Regions from separate parts of the Homo sapiens genome. Here region 1 is linked to region 2. Evidence: promoter capture Hi-C in 16 types of primary human blood cells and fetal thymus (Javierre and others, 2016). All regions are on one chromosome and are shown on one strand. The core of a region is centred on a gene start or on the middle of the fragment in contact, and the rest is flanking DNA. Distances in the headings are between cores, read along the strand shown. Region 1 overlaps PRXL2A (peroxiredoxin like 2A). Region 2 holds the start of SH2D4B (SH2 domain containing 4B).

Region 1 (2,958 bases), core at 66-2,565, 110 kb before region 2:
TGGGAGGAGATATCGAATTTCTTTTTTTCCTCTCTTAGAACCAAGGACTTTCAAAGCAAAGGAGCTATGGGAAAAAAATGGAGCTGTGATTATGGCCGTGCGGAGGCCAGGCTGTTTCCTCTGTCGAGAGGTGAGTGCAGATGAGGATCTATTCAGAGAAAGGGATCCTGGCAAGTAGGGGCCATTGTTTTCCGGCCAGAACCAAGGGTCGGTAAGCCAGCTTTAGCCTTTTACCCACATGTTCTGTTCTGTTATTTGCTCTAGGTATTTCTTTGATTTGTGCTCTTTTTTTTTTTTTTTTAAACAACTCACCCTCTCCTACTGGGGTTAGCAACACATCTCAGTTTCCCTTAGTACTCCCAGGCCTTTCACCCTGTGCTGTACCTTCTGAGTCCTGGACCATATTCCAATTTAATCAGGGGCAGTGACCAGGTCCAATTCCATGCTTCTGATGCTCAGCACAGATATATGATGTGCCTGGATTGCTTCTGATTCGGGTGTGGTCAGTCCCTCCCTGTGATGAAGCTGCAGTGTCGGAGGAAACACTTCAAGGTTACCTATTAGAGCAGACCTGCCTGTCTCTCTTTCCTTGGGGAGCTCTTAGAGTCCATCGTGGACAGCTGAGAGCCACATTCTCACATGTTAGCTCTGCCTCCTTGCTGTGTGCTCTCAGCATTGAATCTGTAGCTCAGTGGGATTTCAGTCATGCCAGTAGTGCATTTGGCATGAGAGTTTGTTGAAAGTTGGAGCTCACTGACTGGGTGGTCTCCAGGTTGGCCCCTCGAAGGGAAGACATCATCTATTTGTAGGTGATGGAGCTTATCAGTGGAAGGAAGGAACTGTGATTGTTGAAACACAAAATGCTAGTGTGAGAAGGAACATTGCCACTACTTGGATCTAGCCTTGTCCCTTTATAGGTAGGCAAACTGAGGACCAGAGTGGTTAGTGGTCTGTTTGTGGTCACACAGCCAGTCAGTGGCAGAAGACCCAGATTCTGAAATTACTGCCCTGCCTGGGAGAAAACTGGGAATGACAGTATTCCTGCTCTTGAGACAACTTTGCATCTCAAGCAGTGGCTGTGGCCCTGTCCAAATTGTCATCCTCATTCTCCTGGTTCCCCTCCCTGACCCTGAGACACCACCTTTCAGCCTTGCTGATCTCTCCATGCTTGTGTGGCTGGGCTGGTGAAGAATCCACTTGCACTGCTGGATGCATGTGATGCCTGCAGTACCCTACCCCCAGGGCACTGTGTGCCTGCTATCTCAGTGGGTCCTCACCATAGCCCTTGGAAATACAGCTTGTTTTACTCTCATTTTATTATTCTCATTACAGAGGAGGAAACAGTTACAGAGGTTGTAACAAAGCCACCCGGATCGGGGAGATGTATTAATTTTCTGTTGCTGTAACAAATTACCTCAAACTCAATGGCTTTAACCAGCACAGATTTATCTTGTAGTTCTAGAGGTCAGAATTCCAAAGCGGAATCTGGTTGCATTCCTTCTGAAGACTATAGGGGAGAATCCATTTCTTTTGCCTTTTCCAGCTGTTAGAGGCCACCTATGTATATTGGTTTATGGCCCCTTCCTCTATTTTTAGGTCAGCAATGGCTGGCAAGTCAGCAACAGCATGGAAGCCTGTTTTGACTTGATTTCTCGGGGCCATTAAAATCCAGAAGGTTCCAAGAGCAACAGCTCTCCCTAATTATAACCTGTTTCCCTCTGTACTGGTCTGTGCCCACATAGAACATTTAGTGGAAACTTACGTTTCCAAAAAGATGGGTGGATGGCAATCTGAGTTATTTTGAGTGGCCCAACTAGGAGGTATGTGACTCAGTTTCCACGTCATGGCTTTGTATAGTGCCACACCAGGAGTAAAGAGCCAGGAAAAGTGAGTAAGACCTTTCATCTCAGCCAGGTGCAGTGGCTCATGCCTATAATCCCAGCACTTTGGGAGGCTGAGGTGAGAAGATCACTTGAGCCCAGGAATTTGAGACCACCCTAGGCAACATAGCGAGACCCTGTCTCTACAAAAAAAAAAAAAAAAAAAAAAAAAAAAATTAGCCAGGCATGTTGGTGTGCACTTGTAGTCCCAGCTTTTCAGGAGGCCGAGGGAGGAAGATTGCTTGAGCCCAGGAGTTCAGGGCTACAATGAGCTATGATTGTGCCACTGTAGTTGGGCAACAGGGCAAGACTCAAAAAAAAAAAAGGCCAGGTGCAGTGGCTCACACCTGTACTCCCAGCACTTTGGGAGGCCGAGGCAGGTGGATCACTTGAGGTCAGGAGTTCAAGACCAGCCTGGCCAACATGGCCCATCTCTGCTAAAAATACAAAAAATTAGCCAGGTGTGGTGGTGCGCCCCTGTAATCCCAGTTACTTAGGAGGCTGAGGCGTGAGAATCACTTGAACCCAGGAGGTGTAGGTTGCATTGAGCTGAGATTGTGCCACTACACTCCAGCATGGGCGAGTAGCGTGGGCGACAGAGCAAGACTCCATCTCAAAAATAAAAGACCTTTCATATCACAAAAAGGTGGTTTTTGATTATATCAAACACTGTAGTCCTCTGCTCTAGGGCAAAATTTGCCAGTCAGTAAAACTCTTGATAAATGTATTGTAATCAATTCTGCCTCATTAGTTGTTTTTTTTCTTACTCTAGAAAATAAATGAAAAATTAAATGTAGTTGCAACCATACAACAGCATATTTGTATTGGAGATGAGTAGACTGCATTTAAAAGGATTTTTGCTCATTCTTTAATTCTGACACCAAATGTGAAAAAAGGATTGAGTTCTTAATGTTGAAGCTTTACCATGACTCATGCAGTTTCCCTCATTCATCTAGCACACAGTTCCTGAGAGTCAAGGGTATCTGCATCTCAGCTCAGCTGCATTCTCCCCATTGTCCCCCTTCAAATCTTTCCACCTGGTATTTAGCACCTGTTTTATACCCAGCCATGTTCTAGG
Region 2 (3,328 bases), core at 485-2,984:
TCACGTCCCCGCGATTCGGTGTCTCTTGGCCTCCTGCCCCGCTGACCTGGGAGTGCCAGGGATCACCCCGCCCCCAGCGAGATCCCCTCTATCGCACAAAATGGGCGCTAGCGGGGGTCATTCTAGTCCGGCTGCCTCACTCTCCCGACGGTCCTCCAGGGTGGCACCATCACCGTTCTCGCCCGCCTCCAGCCGGCCCATTCCTGCTGCTCCCTACAGCGTTGTCCCTGCCCCGTGCCCTCTTGTGGTCGTAGGTATCTGGCGGCCCGGGAAAGACAAAAAGAAGCTGCCCGCAGGAGCCCAGACCCTGGGGGCCTTCCTCCCCTTGTCTCCTCTTTGGACTCGGGGGTCTCCCACCAGCCACGGCGAGGGGGAGAAAGAGAATAGCTGGGCAGAGGCTAGGGAAGACCCCCGGTCTCAGAAACTGAGGGGAGCCAGGACTCCCGGTGGGGGAGTCGGTGCAAGCCCTGAGGTGGGTGGATGGGAGTCCAGGGCCACAGCTCTGCAGCGGACAGGCGAGTCCTGTGGCGGCTCTAGGAAGGTCTGGGCACACTGGGACCAGCTAGCTGGACCTGGGTGGGGAGGGGTGGGGCGTCTGACTCCACTCCTGTGACCTGGACATTGCCTAGCTGAGCAGGAGCTTTGACCCTATGGGCTTACAGCTCATCTGAATCTGCTTAGTCCATCTTCCTGTTGTGTTAACCTTGCAGAGGGGGAAGAATGCCAACTCTCCACCCCTCTTCCATCACTCTTGGGTACCTGATCCACCTTCCACCCTCATGGGCAAGGAAGGGGACAGGAAGGTCACCAATCCAACCAAGCCACAGTGCCAAATCCTGTTGGTTCGTTTGTTTTCCCTTGGTTGGGTTATGTTTTCAAACCATCAACAGATTCATAGTTGCTAGTGGATGTCAAATTTCAAAACGGGGGAGTCCCAATACAGTGACTTGTCCATTAGGAAGCCATAGGCAAGCCACTTACTTTCTCTGAGCTTCAATATCCTTGTCCCAATAAGAAGGCATCTGTGATTTGCTCTGAGCACATATTTAGGGTGAGCTTTCACCCTAAAGATCTCAGCAACGGCAGCTTCTACCCACCTTCACACACCAAAGAGAGGGTGGCTTCCCTCCCAGCAGAAGGCAACATCCCGCCATTCCAGTGTGCTTCTGATCAGGGCACAGAGAAGAGCCAGTTTCATCTTCTTTCTTTTTGGTCAACTCCAGGCATCTGCAACAAACAAGATTAACAACGACCATTAAAACTGGCCCCTGGAGGGTTTATCTGTCAGCCACGCATGGCTGCAGGATCTCATTATATATAGGCCAAAGGGAAAGGATGTCTGCTTCCTTTCTGTCCTGGAATTCCAAGATAAAATCCCCTCCAGTTGTCTCTACTGATTCCATTTTGTTTTCTTTCTTGGCTGTAACACAGATAGGAGGAAAAATCTTTCCTCCCCCAAGGCAGAGTTTTAAACGCATCATCTCAGAATGCCAAATGTTCTGGAAAGGAAGAAAGTTGGCAGCGAAGGAACCCGCAGAGAGAGGGGCTGAGAGGGCTGAGGGGCCCAGCAGCTTCTGGCAGGCTCCTCTGGTCTGTGTTTGAAATTGGCTGAAAAGACATGGAATTTAGTAGGCAAGTCTGCCTCCTTCTCCTCCTCTTATCTGCAGAGGAGAGATCAGTTCCCAGCTGGCCGGGGCAGTGTCATTGATATAGCTGGTGTCATTGTTACCTTCCACTAACAGATCACTCGACACCTACCAGCCCAGGCAGGGCTGGGACTGGGCATTTCCTGGCTGAGCTGGAGGCTTGGGCCCTTCCCATTGTCTCAGAACCCCAGGTGATGCCAAGACATGGGCTCTCCTGGGATGCCGTGCTTGGTGACCCAGGAGAAGGACTAGATTGCTCCTGGTGGTTGCTCCCCCTTGCAGAGTCCCACCTGCCCCTTTGGGTCCTGTTGCCTGGCCTCTTTTGCTGTCCTGGGTAGAGGAGATGAGTTCGTCGCTGGCTGCAAGCTGAGGCCAACTGACAATGCTGCACAGAGAAGGGGCACCGAGAGTGGCCCCGGATTGAGCAGTCCGTAGTGCAGAGCAGCCCCTCGGGCGTTCTGCCTGGCCCTGCTTCCCCTGCTGGCTGCCCTTCTGGTGCGTGCATCCCAGGTGGCATCATGCTGCAGCAGATCCTGCACGACATGTACATCGACCCCGAGCTCCTTGCCGAGCTCAGCGATGTGCAGAAGCACATCCTCTTCTACAAAATGCGGGAGGAGCAGCTGAGGCGCTGGAAGGAGCGGGAGACTTGGGAGGCCCTGGCCCAGGACGAGGGTCTCAGGCCTCCAAAGACCAAGCGAGGTACGTGGCTGGGAGTCACAGAGAGGTAGGCCACCAGTCCCCCAGGAGGTAGAAAAATTAGCAGGGCCAGGCTGTGCCCTTCTTCAAGATGGGCACTGGGGTGATGAGGGCTGGGGGCTTGAAACCCTTGTCTTGTGGGCATCAGGTCCCATGAGCCTGTGCTTTTGCCTTTTGGCCAGGACCTTAGGGCTTCGAGGCTGCTGCAGAGGCTGTCCAGCGGCCCTTATTGGAGTCGGGGAGTTGGGACTTGCTTTGTCTTGTTGTGGAAGGCCCGAGTTCTGGGAAGACACCATTGAGACTTCAGATTGTGCTCCGACGTGGTTGGCAATGGTAGGGTGAACGACGGCATATTTGTGACCCTTGCCATTGGTTCTGGGCCAGAGTGTGGTGTAGATATGCAGTTCCTTTCTCCTTGGCATGCGTGGCACACCAGTTCTTGGCTAGGGCCCCTTCTGTGGACTGTGCCTCTCCCTCCAGATCCTCCGGCAGGAGGATGCTGTGGGTTGTCTCTGGAGCCCCACTGGGCATCCGGAGAGAGGGCATCAGGGAACGTCCCACACAATGAATGACCATCCCCAAATGGTCGTAGCAACTGCAGATGAGAAGCAAGGGCCTAGCCTACATTTCAGGTGTTTTGTATGCAAAGTCATGTGCCAGTCAATCCTATGGACTGGTACACCTGTGGGTGAAGGAAATCATCCAGGACCCCTGGGCCAGAAACTGGCAGGCTGCTGAGGCTTGGCTTGGCACAGGACTCAATCCTGCCAGGGATTGTAGTTTCTGTGGATGCTGCATGCACTTTACAGTTTGCAAGGCTTATGTGCCTTCACCCTTTGAAGTTTTCAATCCAGAACAAAGTCCTGTTTCAGGGCTGAGCACACAGCTCCCTTGGTGATCTGGCTCTTCTCCATGCCAGGCTCACTGCTGGCCAGTCCCCACCAGGTGCCACAGGCCACACCCACATCATCTGGACATGCTTG

What was found. Contacts are between HindIII fragments. The CHiCAGO score rates a contact against its expected background, and 5 or more counts as called.
Region 1: a contact is called between a fragment that was not itself captured here and the fragment with the promoter of SH2D4B in region 2, in 14 of 17 cell types (activated CD4 T cells, non-activated CD4 T cells, monocytes and 11 more). The highest score is 10.4, in activated CD4 T cells.

The regions. Positions count from the first base shown.
Region 1 is chr10:80,422,379-80,425,336 of GRCh38, forward strand. PRXL2A (peroxiredoxin like 2A) reads left to right here. Exons shown (of 6, transcript NM_032333.5): 3 at 39-130. Among named protein-coding and RNA genes, the nearest start is that of PRXL2A, 15 kb to the left of the region's middle. The HindIII fragment of the contact is 2,961 bases long and covers 1-2,796 here.
Region 2 is chr10:80,536,168-80,539,495 of GRCh38, forward strand. SH2D4B (SH2 domain containing 4B) reads left to right here and starts at 1,735. Exons shown (of 8, transcript NM_001388272.1): 1 at 1,735-2,348. The coding sequence starts at 2,165. RefSeq lists an enhancer at 33-132. The HindIII fragment of the contact is 17,935 bases long and covers 1-3,328 here.